2 separate regions of the Homo sapiens genome follow, and region 1 is linked to region 2. The links are contacts of gene promoters, found by promoter capture Hi-C in blood cells and fetal thymus (Javierre and others, 2016). All regions are on one chromosome and are shown on one strand. Each heading gives the region's core, a stretch centred on a gene start or on the middle of the fragment in contact. The rest is flanking DNA. Distances are from core to core; before and after follow the strand shown. Region 1 has its middle 110 kb from the start of SLC2A12. Region 2 holds the start of HBS1L (HBS1 like translational GTPase).

The links. Contacts are between HindIII fragments. The CHiCAGO score rates a contact against its expected background, and 5 or more counts as called.
Region 1: a contact is called between a fragment that was not itself captured here and the fragment with the promoter of HBS1L in region 2, in 1 of 17 cell types (fetal thymus). The highest score is 6.4, in fetal thymus.

Annotation. Positions count from the first base shown.
Region 1 is chr6:134,162,607-134,169,205 of GRCh38, forward strand. No RefSeq gene overlaps it. Among named protein-coding and RNA genes, the nearest start is that of SLC2A12, 110 kb to the left of the region's middle. The HindIII fragment of the contact is 1,120 bases long and covers 4,555-5,674 here.
Region 2 is chr6:135,050,477-135,056,863 of GRCh38, forward strand. HBS1L (HBS1 like translational GTPase) reads right to left here and starts at 4,346. Exons shown (of 18, transcript NM_006620.4): 1 at 4,173-4,346; 2 at 106-171. The coding sequence starts at 4,215. LOC124901405 (a long non-coding RNA gene) reads left to right here and starts at 4,417. Exons shown (of 2, transcript XR_007059775.1): 1 at 4,417-5,010. RefSeq lists an enhancer at 4,505-4,554. The HindIII fragment of the contact is 2,164 bases long and covers 2,884-5,047 here.

The sequences.
Region 1 (6,599 bases), core at 3,865-6,364, 890 kb before region 2:
CCTGGCCAAACCCCGTCTCTACTAAAAATACAAAAATTAGCCAGGTGTGGTGGCACAAACCTGTGATCTCAGCTACTCAGGAGGCTGAGGCAGGAGAATCGCTTGAACCTGGGGGGTGGAGGCTGCAGTGAGCAGAGATTGCGCTCAAGCCTGGGCAACAGAGCGAGACACCATCTAAAAAAAAAAAAAAAAAGAGTCTATCAAAAGTAGCAAGAAAAGAAGAGTGAGCAGAATGGTGTTGGAATCATCTAGGTGTCGTGAACAAATTGGCAGTCACTCATCTATTTTATGTATGTGTATGTCAAGTGACTTGCATCCTTATGCTGATGACCCTTGGTCTACTGCTCCCACGAAGTGCTTGTCTACTTGTATATTTCCTTGTGAACAGTCTGTACTTGGCATGTTGTCATTATAACACTGCCATCATGCCGCCTGTGATACACTACTAGGTGGAGCACAGGACAGAGGACCCAGAAAAGAAGAAACACAGAACCCTGCCCATCAGAGTCCATGGTTTCCAAGGCATCCAAATACACAAAGATATCTGTCTGAACACAGTGTTATAGGCACACACTGAGTAAACTTTAAGGAGTGGCCAGCTGAGGTGGCTCACGCCTGTAATCCCAGGACCTTGAGAGTCCAAGGTGGGTGGATTACTTGAGCCCAGGAGTTTGAGATTAGCCTGGGCAACATAGCAAGACCCCATCTCTACAAATAATAAAAAACAATTAGCGGGGCATGGTGATGGATGCCTGTAGTCCTAACTACTCCAGAGGCTGAGGTGGGAGGATTTTTTTAAGCCAGGGAGGCAGAGGATGCAGGGAGCTGTGATTGCATCACTGTACTCCAGCCTGGGTGACCCTGTCTCAAAACAAAAACAAACAAACAAAAACCTCTAATGATTGCTCATAATTTTGCTGATAAAGTCTTTCACAGAAAACATGTGGAAAGCAGAGAAAACATATGTAAACTATATGTAAACTAAATGTGTTCTCATGTACATTTGTTTGCAGTGGCCAAATTAGACTAGGAAAGGGCTGATTGCAGGCACACTGCCTATGAATTAACCCTGCTTCACAAGGAGCAGCAGTACCAAAATTATTAAAAATGTAAAGAAGAAAAAAAAGACTAGAAAAGATCACTTGCAAGCTACAGTGAAGTGTAAGCAATAAGCTAATTTTTGGTTTGAATAATTAACACTTTTCATGCAGTATGAGAAAAACATTTAAATACTTTCAAATTTGGCTTAATTTATTTGGATGATTGCATTTTTATTTTCTATTTTGTTTTTTGTAGTTTTTTTTTTTTTTCAATTTTTATTTTAGATTCAGGGAATATATGTGCAGGTTTGTTGTTTTTGTTAATAGAAGTATTGTTCTGATTAACACCAGGAAAAGTGTTAACATTGCTATACCCCTAGTACAAAGCTCGAGGAATGTTACATAGGATTTTAGAGGCTTTTTCTTTCTTTCTTTCTTTCTTTCTTTCTTTTTCTTTTTTTTTTTTTTTTTTTTTTTTTTGAGATGGAGTTTTGCTCTTGTTGCCCAGGCTGGATTTTAGGGGCTTTTTGAAGGATGAGGAGAGAAATTACTTAACAGGATAGGTTAGAGATTGACTACAGGGCATAACGTCTTGCCTTGCCAATTAAATTGATTGATTATTGACTGGCTGATTCGTTATATACTGGGGATGTTGAAGAAACTGGTGGGCGGCCTTTGTCCTAGAAACTATTATTGCAGCTGTGACAACTGCTTCAATAAGTTGTCAAGTACATTAAAGAAGTAAATTACATGAAATGTGCTTTGCTTTGCATTCATCCGTCTTCCACCATCGTAACTCACTAAGTCTCATTGACGTGGGAACGTGGAAACATCTCCTCTGTCCTTTACTCACCACCACCACTGGGATGACTGTCAGAAGTCTCCTAAGGGGCTTTTATATTAATTTCAAAGCTTTCTCGCTCTCACACCTCTTAGTGATAGCCAGTAAAACACTCTGAATCACTTCACTTTCCTCATGGAAAACCTTCAAATGCTTCCTTTGCTATCTGATGAAAGCTAAACGTCTCCCCCGTGGGATTATTAAGAACATGAAAGACATGGTCCATCTCCCTACTTAAAATTTTTTCAGCCGGGCACGGTAGTTCATGCCTGTAATCTCAGCACTTTGGGAGGCTGAGGCGGGTGGATCACCTGAGGTCAGGAGTTTGAGACCAGCCTGGCCAATATGGCGAAACCCTGCCTCTACTGAAAAATCCCGTCTCAAAGAAAAGAAAGAAAGCTGGTCAATAGAGCTGAGATTCTGCCCTAGGTCTGTCTGGTCCCTTTCTATTGCCACTGTCCCATTCATTATCCTTATGCAAGTCCGGCCCCCACTACAAGCCTGAATGTGGAATGGCCTTTCTGCCTCATTTTCAAGATCCAGTTCTCCAAGACAGCCTACCTGGATTCTCCAGATCTCCCTAAGCACCTTTTTCCTAAACTACCTAAAAATGTACTCCCATTTCCTGCCCCCCAAGTTGAGTAAGGTGTCACTCCTATGTACGCAAACACCTGTTTTCATCATACCACATATTTATAATGCACATTTTTGTTATATAACACATACAGAGAAAAATGCATGTATCATAAGTGTATAGCTTGATGAAATCAAGATCAAGCTCAAGATCAGATCAAGAAATTAACAGCACCTGGTAGGATGTCTTCCTTATGCACCCTCTCAACTATGAGCTCTGCCTTCCTCCCCAAAGGTGATCACATCTTAACTTCCAAATCAATTCATGCTGTTTGCCTGCTTTTACATTTTATATAAATCAAATCATACAGTCTGGGTTTTGTTTATGAGATCTATTCCTTGTTGTATATAGCAATTATTCACTCATTTTCATTGGGTAGTATTTCAGTATATGAAACCACACTAAATTCTTTATTCATTTTCCTATAGGTGGACATTTTGAATGGTTCCCATTTTGGGGCTGTCATAAATAGTATTACTGGGAACACTATTGCAAATTTTGTATTGCATATGTGTGCAGTCTTTGGGGTCTATACTGTGGAAGAGAACGATTGGGCCACAAGTTATAGATATCTTCATCTTTAGTAGATACTGCCAAGCAGTTTTCCAAAATGGTGCACCAAGTTATACTCCCACTGCAATGTATATTTTTGCAGCTGCTTCTTATCTTCATCAGTCACTGATAGTGTCTGTAATTACAAATTTTCCCTCTCTCTCCCTCTCCCTCTCCATCCCCCTCTTTTTGCCTAGCATGACATCTAGAAGGTATCTTTGTAAAAGTCTGGTGAATTAATAAATGGATGACTAACAAGTACACAGCTGTTTGCTTTTATACTCTTCTGTCACCTCTGAGGCCGGATAAAGTAATGGCTACAAGCATAGGCTTTTGGGCCAGATTGACATGATTTGACTTTCGATCTCACCACTTACTGACCAGCTAATGACCGTTCTGTACGAGTTTCTTCACTTTTGACATCACAGCATTGTTATGAAGAGTAAACAGCTTGACTACAGAATACTTAGAACAGCCAGGTATGGTGGCTCATGCCTGTAATCCTAGCACTTAGGGAGCTCAGGACCAGCCTGGGCATCATGGTGAAACCACGTCTCCGAAAAAGACTTATTAAGAAACAAAACGTTGTTTACTTGGTTGGCTGAGGTGGGAGGATCACCTGAGTCCAGGAGGTTGAGGCTGCAGTGAGCCATGATTGTACCACTTTTCTCCAGCCCAGACAATAGAGATCGTGTCTCAAAAACAAACAAACAAAAAAAACAAACTTAGAACATTGTCTGACACATAATAAGAGCTCAGTAGAATTAGCTATTACGATTATAATCCGGTCCTCAGGGCCTGTATCCTATTAGAGTTCCTAGAATTGGTTAGGAAGAATCTTAGAGCTTCCCGTCTATGAAGCCTGCTCTAGGCACCCGACCCCGCAGAGAGCCGCTGGACGTCTGAAGTTCCCTTTACCCCTTGTTCACTGCCTGTCACATGTTAAGGGTAGGTGCCTGTCTCCCCAGGTGGATGGCAAATTCTGTAAGGGCAGTGACTGACTTATTCTTTTTGGTAGCAGTGGTTTTAGACACATTTTAGCTTATGAGAATCTTAGCTGAATTGGTTCCCCCAAACCCATATTTGAGTAGACCTACAGCTGGAGAGCTATGGAGAAGACAATTATCCCTTTTCCAATCAATTGTCGTGCTCAAAGGCAGGCTGGCTGGGGCTCAGGGAATGTGCTGGCAGGGATATGCCCCACTCCCTTAGGTAAAAGATACCTCTGCACACACATTATTTGACAGTACAGTGCTTAGTAAATATTTGTCATTTGTTTATTGATCTCTTGTTCTTTCTTGACTTCCCTGTTCTTGCCTTGTTCTCTTCCCACCCACTTGTGCTTGATCTTATCTCCCATCTGGGTGACAATGTTTGGGTCTCCTCTGGCACCTTTCAATTCTGGAGAAACACAATTCAGATCTTCTATGTGAAGTGATGGACTATAATCCAGTAAACCAGAATTCTACCTTCAAAACATAAAAAAAAGCTTTGTAACTCGTGACTGGCCCATCTGAGTTATCTATAATTAGATTGCAGATTCCTAAGCCCACCTGAACTGTGTTCAGATGAAAATGAGATTTAAGCACTTTTTGTTCGAGGAGGAATTCATAACTGTTATTGAGAATGAGAATGAGGGGGAATATGCAATGAGTCTCTATGTTAGAGCCGGCATCAATCTTTAATAGGAAAATACATGCTTTTTTTTTGTTTTGTTTTTTGAGACAGAGTCTTGCTCTGTCGCCCAGGCTGGAGTGCAGTGGTGCGATCTCGGCTCACTGCAAGCTCCGCCTCCCTGGTTCACGCCATTCTCCTGCCTCAGCCTCCCGAGTAGCTGGGACTACAGGCGCCCACCACCACGCCCGGCTAATTTTTTTGTATTTTTAGTAGAGACGGGGTTTCACCATGTTAGCCAGGATGGTCTCGATCTCCTGACCTCGTGATCTGCCCGCCTCGGCCTCCCAAAGTGCTGGGATTACAAGCGTGAGCCACCGTGCCTGGCCTTGCTTTGGACTCTTTATTTGTCAACTGGGCCCGGTAGGGAATTGAACACGTAGCTAATGCCTGTAGAGCAGTAAGTCAACAGCAGAGCATGACCGGTGGCCCACCTTGAGCAAAAAGCTATCGACTCGTTTTCATCTTCTTCCTTCATTAGATCATGAGGGAGAAGAACTCGGTTATCTCTGAACACCTGTTTGGCCCTTGGAAACCTTGTGGGGTAGGAGAGGGGGACTGAGGCAAAGTGAGGTGAGACCCAAGAGCAAGGATAAGAGGAAAAAAGCTCACAGCTTTCCCTTGGGGAAATCCCTGTGCGAACTGGAAGGTCAGGGTAGCGGGGGTGCAGCAGGCCTACAGGGTGCTTTTGCAATTAAGGCAGCAGCAACATCAACTGTTTGGGGATTCCCTGATTATTTGTTAAGTATTTGTGTGGAAGACCTAGAAGAGTGAAAAAGTCCAAACCTTTGGACTCAAGATCTCCAAGGATGGTGCCACCTCGCTTTCTCCCACAGGTAATATCACAGTGGGGTGAGCTCTAGGAGTGGGCTCTGCCACACAGCCCCAGAGCCTGCTGGGCCCTTAGGGTGCTAGGTAGACACTGGCTCAAGAAGCTTCAGTCCAAGCTAGGGATGAGCTCCTTCAGGGTCCCTTTACTGAGCTCACTCTAGACCTGGGTCAACTCCAGGTACTCTCAGAAACCAGATGTCCCAGCCAGGTCAGCTTTTTGGGAACATATCCACTTATTTAAAACATTCTCCCCAGCACTTAGGGAAGCCGAGGCAGACAGATCACTTGAGGCCAGGGATTCGAGACCAGCCTGGCCCACATGGTGAAATCCCATCTCTACTAAAATACAAAAATTAGCCAGGCATGGTGGTGCATGCCTGTAGTCCCAGCTACTCAGGAGGCTGAGATGGGGGGATCACATGAACCCAGGAGGCGGAGGCTGCAGTGAACCAAGATCACACCACTGCACTCCAGCCTGGGCGACAGAGTAAGACCGTGTCTCAAAAAAAAAAAAAAAAAAAAAAAAAATTCTCACCCTCTTGTGTGGCATTCTCCTAAACTTCACAGACTATTTCTCAATTTCCATCTCAACTAACTGCTTTAGGTCGGCCTTCTTCATCAGGCTCTGGAAGGGCGAAGTTGTCTGCTTTGTCCACTACGATATCCTGAGCACTCGCAATAGAGCCCAGAGTAGGCTTTCAAATATTTCTGGAAAGAATTACCTGTAACTGAAGACAAGCCAAATGTCAGGACAAATAGTCCAACTTCACAGGACAGGCAATAAATACAGGAAGCATTACTTCATAGCAATCCTTGCAAGATGAGTAAATTGCAAAGGATTTCCTTGGATGGATTTATGAATGACAGACACCATAAAATGCTGCTAAAAAGGCCTGGAACGTAGGTTGGCTTTAAGACCATCCTATACTCCCCTGGAGTCAGAAACCACTGCTGTTGGGAGCAAACCACTAAGCAGGAAATTACAGCAGGATTTTCATGGTTTTCAATTTTAAACTAACCCATGATT
Region 2 (6,387 bases), core at 3,096-5,595:
AATGTTATATATTACAGTCTCACAGAACACTCCAGTCCTTGAACGACTAACATTTACATTTTTAAACACCAAATCTAAGGAATCAAATTATTTTTAAAAATTCACCTGTTGACGGCGAAATACAATAATCATCCTCTACAGACTGGCCGTAGAGATCATCATCTTCAAAATCTAAAATAAAGACAAAAGAGATAAATTCATTTACAAGTTCTTTTTATATTCTTAGTTACTAGTGAGGAAGCATCTGAATCCTCTCCAAAATAAACTGTTTATCAAAATTTAAGGATCCTAGAATGTCTATTTTCAAAAAAACTCTTAAGAATTTCACCCACAAAATAGGTTATTTACTAACTCTATATTTATAAAGACATACACAGTTCTTCAGTTGTTAAATTAATTGGGTTTACCCAGGTCCCAAGTTTTCACCTCATAGGATCAAATACAATAATCCTATAAAAAATATACTTGAGGCCAGGCACGGTGGCTTACGCCTGTAATCCCAGCACTTTGGGAGGCCGAGGTAGGTGGATCATGAGGTCAGGAGTTTGAGACCCGCCTGACCAATATGGTGAAACCCCGTCTCTACTAAAAATACAAAAATTAGCTAGACATGGTGACGTGCACCTGTAATCCCAGCTACTCTGGAGGCTGAGGCAGGAGAATCACTTGAACCCAGGAGGCAAGGTTGCAGTGAGCCAAGACCGCGCCACTGCACTCAGCCTGGGCGACAGAGCAAGACTCCGTCTCAAAAAGAAAAAAAAAGAAAAAAAGAAAAAAAAATACTTAGTCTCTCCAGTGTTGACAAAAATCTGAAATAAACCATTTTTTTCACCATGTGCCCTCTAAAACCAAAGCACTTCTCTTCCACAGAACATGGGGGTATATAATAGATCATGAAAGTAGTATTTCTTTATGGAGAGCTAGGTAACATCTATACAAACCAACTTACCCTAAACTCCCTATGCCCACCTGCTGATGGCTAACTGCCCTTTTTTTCTGCTTCCTGGGATATGCTCTTTGCCTAGATTTTCCGAGGCCATTTCTTTCTGCTAGTTAAGGTTCCAGCTCAAATGTCTCCTCTTTGCACAAGTCTTCCCTGACCACTCTGGGTAAAGCAGTAAGCCCCTCTGCTACTGTTACCCTCCAGCACACTTACCCAATTTACAGAGCGCTACGCCTGTTCACTACATGAGACTATCAGCTTCTTCAGGGCAAGACTTGGTTTAGCCAACTACCTGGCACATATGGGGCACTAGATTAATATTTGTTTTATTATAAATTAATGAATCAAACTAATTACAACTAAAAACCCACAAAGAACATAAATATATTTACATAAATTTCATTTGACAAACACTAACACCATGCCAGGGAGTAGTTGAGACAACTGTGGTATAACAGTGAACACATTTCCAGTTATCACTGCACCTAAAATCTGACAAGGAATACACACAAGATAATGGGCAATTACAAAACCATGTGACAAGTGCCTGATGTGAGAAACACAGAGCAATTTGGGAACACACACATGAATGACAAAACTAGAACCGGGAGTGGGGCAGCTAGGGAAAGATCCCCATTAATATAATATCCAAACCAATTCCAAAGGATAGAGTTAGCTAGTTTCTGAGGGTATTCATGCAGCAGGAACAGCATGCTCAAAGGCTGAGACCAAATGCTTACAGCAAAGAAAAATTAGATAAATGCTACTATTGGGCAAAAACATATATGATTAAATAAATTATTAGATCACAATCCCAAGTTAATAAAAATTTATTTGCAAATAAACAAGGGGCCATTCACAAACAAAGTATTTTTAGATATTGAAGACAACAATAGGCCAGGCATCGTGGCTCACACCTGTAATTCCAGTACTTTGGGAAGCCGAGGAGGGAGGATCTCGCTTGGGCAACACAGCCGGATGCTGTCTCTACTAAAATAAAAAATTAACCGGGCATGGGGGCACATGCCTGTAGACCTAGCTACTCGGGAGGCTGAGGCACGAGGATTGCTTGAGCCCAGGAGTTGGAGGTTACAGAGAGCTATGATCATGCCACTGCACTCGCACTCCAGCTTGGCCAACCAACAAAGTGCGATCCTGTCTCTTAAAAAAAAAAAAAAAAGAAAAAAAACTCTTTTTTACTAGGTCAGTTTGTCAATGCTGAAGTTGACCCTAAAGTGCCACAACATATAAAGATGAAGAGAATTCTTTCCTGCAATCTTCATAGTTTGTTTCCTCAATCAACAAAATTATGAAATATTTACCACATGTAAAGAACATTGTGCCAGCTACTTAAAGTATGGATTTTGCCTTCCTGAGACTTTTAAATCAGTGACTGAGGCAGTCATGTAAAGTATTACATAAATTACAGAGAAAAACAAAGTGGGAGTTAAGTAGCGGAACCAGTAGGTTTTAGAACACAAACTCTCTCTAATGAGGTTATATTTCTTAACAGAATTTTTAAATTATTATTCTGAGAATTCAAGAGAAAGCCTAACTGGGAAGAAGAGAAATAAACTGGACCTTAATGAGTACAACTTTTATAAACAAGAAAAGGGGATGAACCTCCTTAATGTTACAGGAACAGCTTGGTTATGATGTCACCAATTGTTTCAAAGAAGCATGACAACATGACAACCTAACCTCAAGAAGCCAAGGTGCTCCCTGAGGCCAACCACCTCTCCTCCATGAAGCATTCCTTAACGTAGAAATCCTGCTTAAATTCCCCCCAATCCATTCTGAATTAAGTGTTCTCATCTGTGTATCCCTCCCATAGCGTTTTCTCAGTACCTTTTGTAGCATTTTTCATACTCTAATAATCTGTAACTCGTATAATCTTCTCCTTTTAGACCACCCTCAAATATCTTACTTTCAGTCCTCAAAGCTTAGAACAGTACTCTAAGCACTAACTTAATGGTGGTTGAGGAAATGATAAACAACTATTAAAGAAATGAATGAATAATAAATAGGCCTATTCATGTACTTTATATTTGCAAAAATCTCTCTCAATCTAAAGTCATTTCTTAGGTGACAATGGTCCACATGCAATACCATCCACTGCAATATTTATTTAAAAGGGCCTCCATTCTAAAGTAACCACCAGAAAATTCACATGTTCTAGACGGACTGAGGTCACAGGTTCCAAATGGAGAACAGGGTGTTAGCTGCCCTCACTCTAGTTAAAGCATACTGATGTTCTATAATAATCTACTGGGGTGCCAATGACAATCACCAACATATTAAGCACTACATGTTCTGCACTTCGTAAAGCATAGTTCTTTATTCTTCTCCTGCATTAGTTCATTTTTGTTTATATTTTTAGTTTATGTGATGCTTGGTGATGCCTATAGTTATCTACTGCATGAAGAGGGATGTGCTCCTCCTAAAAATAATTCTAACTCCTGTTAACTCCTACAGAACATTCATACAGACATTTTTATTTCATTTTTTAATATCAAAAAGTCCTTTCCTATACACTCTTTCCTCTAGTACTGCCGTTTATTTACATTTCAAAATACATTTATATCAAGCATTACCAGCCAAGAACTAAGTATAAACTTCAAGATCCATCTGATCGACTCATTCTTTGGGCCTTTTTAACATGTGTCTTTTCTACCGTCTCCTAAGTTTCCACTTTGAAATTCGTTGAAAAATAAATTAGCGCAAACTGATTCTGCACTAGGTATGTATGGACATACACAAAAGGTTTACCATGTAAATCTAACACAGGTACACGTCCGTTGAATGTATTAAGTCAATCTGTGTTTTACAAATAAGCAACGTTTCATGGACATTTCTCAAAGGGGATCTGGGAGAGAGGAGCTAGAAGCAGGCACGTTAGTGCCCAACATGGGAGGAAACAATGGAAGAGGTGATAATGCTTACGTGCCTAAATATCACCGGATCTCAACCTCACCAATATCCTACCCATATGACGCTATGCAGCACCTCCCCCTCCCCAAATAAAATCAACCCCAGAGGGCAGAAATCATGACTTAAAAACGACGGCATTTGAAAGCACTAGAAGGCCTGTTATATTCCCCAACTGGGGCTCTCCCAATCCCGACAGGGCAACACTGACGAGAAACTCACAGATTGAAGTGGATGCCAACGGGCTAGGATCCCAGCTGTAGCCGGGAAAAGAACGTCCCGGCATGACCCTGCCACCTACCTTCATCGTAGTTATAGCCTCGAACATTCCGATGCCGGGCCATGACGGCGGAGAGGGCGTTTGCCACAGCCCCTTAACTCCTTCCAAAACACTCCGCTTAGATACTGATAAGGCGCCAACTGCAGCCTGGAGAACCCCTATGCGCCATCTTGGCTTCCCGCAGGCCTCTGCGCCGAGCGCCTGCGCAAGCGCGACGTCTTAGCTGTGCACCGCGCGACGGCAATGCCTCAGGGTCACTGTCCGCCTCCCTGAGGGCGCATGCGCACTGCTGTGCATGGCGGGACGAGGGGAGGGAGCGTTTGGGAGTGGCCCCACCCAAAGGTTGGGCGACGGAGGGGGATGGGGAAATCCGCCGCCTAGAATTGACTGGTTTGGACTAAATGTTGCAAGCGGGGAACCTTGAGCTACCTACGCCAGCGTTCTGGATTATTTTCCAAATTTGGTTCCTGATAATCTGAGAAAGCTATGCGCTCAGTAAGAGCAGGGACCTTGTTTTATCAAACTTTGATCTTTCATTAAGCACACAGTGGGCATTCAACAAACTTGTGTAAACTTGGAATCAGATTTAGCCCAGGCCGGTGCGGTGGCTCCTTCCTGTAATCCCAGCACTTTGGGAAGCCTAGGAGGGCGGATCGCTTGAACTCAGGTGTTCGAGACCAGCCTGAGCAACATAGCGAGGCTCCGTCTCTACAAAAAATACAAACACTAGCCGGCCCTGTGGTGCAGACCTGTAGTCCCAGCTACTGAAGAGGCTGAGGTGGGAGGATCCCCTGAGCCCAGGCGGTCGAGGCTGCAGTGAGCTGAGATCGGGCCTCTCCATTCCAGCCCGGGCGACAAAGTGAGTGAGACCTTATCTCAAAAAAAAAAAGAGTCCAAGCTTTAGAGAAGGAAATAAGGCTATTTTTAAACGGGTATATATTATTAAATTGAGACCCTGGCTATATTAGGTCACCCTGCATTCATATAATTTACGACTTCATGTATTCACTCCGTTCGGCATTACTATCCCTAGTAAACAGCGATTTGCCCTTAGCTATGTAAACGATTTTAGCTATATAGACGATATTTATCAGCATCATAAAGAAGGATTCACTGAACATTCATTGAAGACATAATTGTGTGTAACATTGCGAGTATTAAATATAGCTTTTTAGACATAGCACTGGCCTTAGGTGGTAATGCTGAATGTTGTTGATGCATGAATCTATAACCTGCTATTAAATGTCCTCATTTCTCAGAACATAAAGTTAATAATGCTATATAAGAAACCAACCTCATTATACTGAACACCACTTCAGTTTTAGCTTGTGTTTTTGAAATGATGATACTTCACATCAAAGGCAAATGTTGAGTTCTAGAGATAATTAAAAGCTTCCTCAGCTTTTTGCTATGCACAATAGAAAGAAATAAGAGTAATCCAAATTTAGTTTATATTTGTAAGTGGCTTGGAACGTAATTTATTCATGCATTTGAATGTGTTTGACTACAAAAATAGTTGTTTAATGTGGCTCCAAAATAAAAGTTTACAGAAAAATAGAGATAGTTGCTAATGTTACATGGCTTAAGTGTTTTTATTATTTTACACCCTTAGGTAATTTTTATTTTGCAGCCTGTTTCTTTGTAAAAAGGAGATAGAGACACTAACTCGCGAGCTGTGAATAATGTATCCGTATAAGAGGATTTATCACAGATCATAGTAGGTGCTTAAAAATATTGTGTTATTGGCCGGGCGCGGTGGCTGACTCCTGTGATCCCAACACTTTGGGAGGCTGAAGCAGGCGGATCATGAGGTCAAGAGATCAAGACCATTCTGGCCAACATGGTGAAACTCCCTGTCTACTAAAAATACAAAAATTAGCTAGGCATGGTGGCGCGTGCCTATAGTCCTAGCTACTCGGGAGGCTGAGGCAGGAGAATCGCTTGAACCCGGGAGGCAGAGGTTGCAGTGAGCTAAGATTGTGCCACTGCACTCCAGCCTGGAGACAGAGTGAGACTCTGCACCCCCCCAAAAAAATTGTGTTATTAAAATACAAATGGCAGCTTCCACTCCACTGTAATTGTCAATTACAAGCTTAACTACAACTCACTGAGGTATGAAGTGAATGAGTTATAGACCACATAAGCAAAGTACTACAGGAACAATGAATAAGAAAACGTTACTTCTGTCAGATAATATATAATTTGCCCTTAGGTCGTCAATAACGCACTCCTTTAA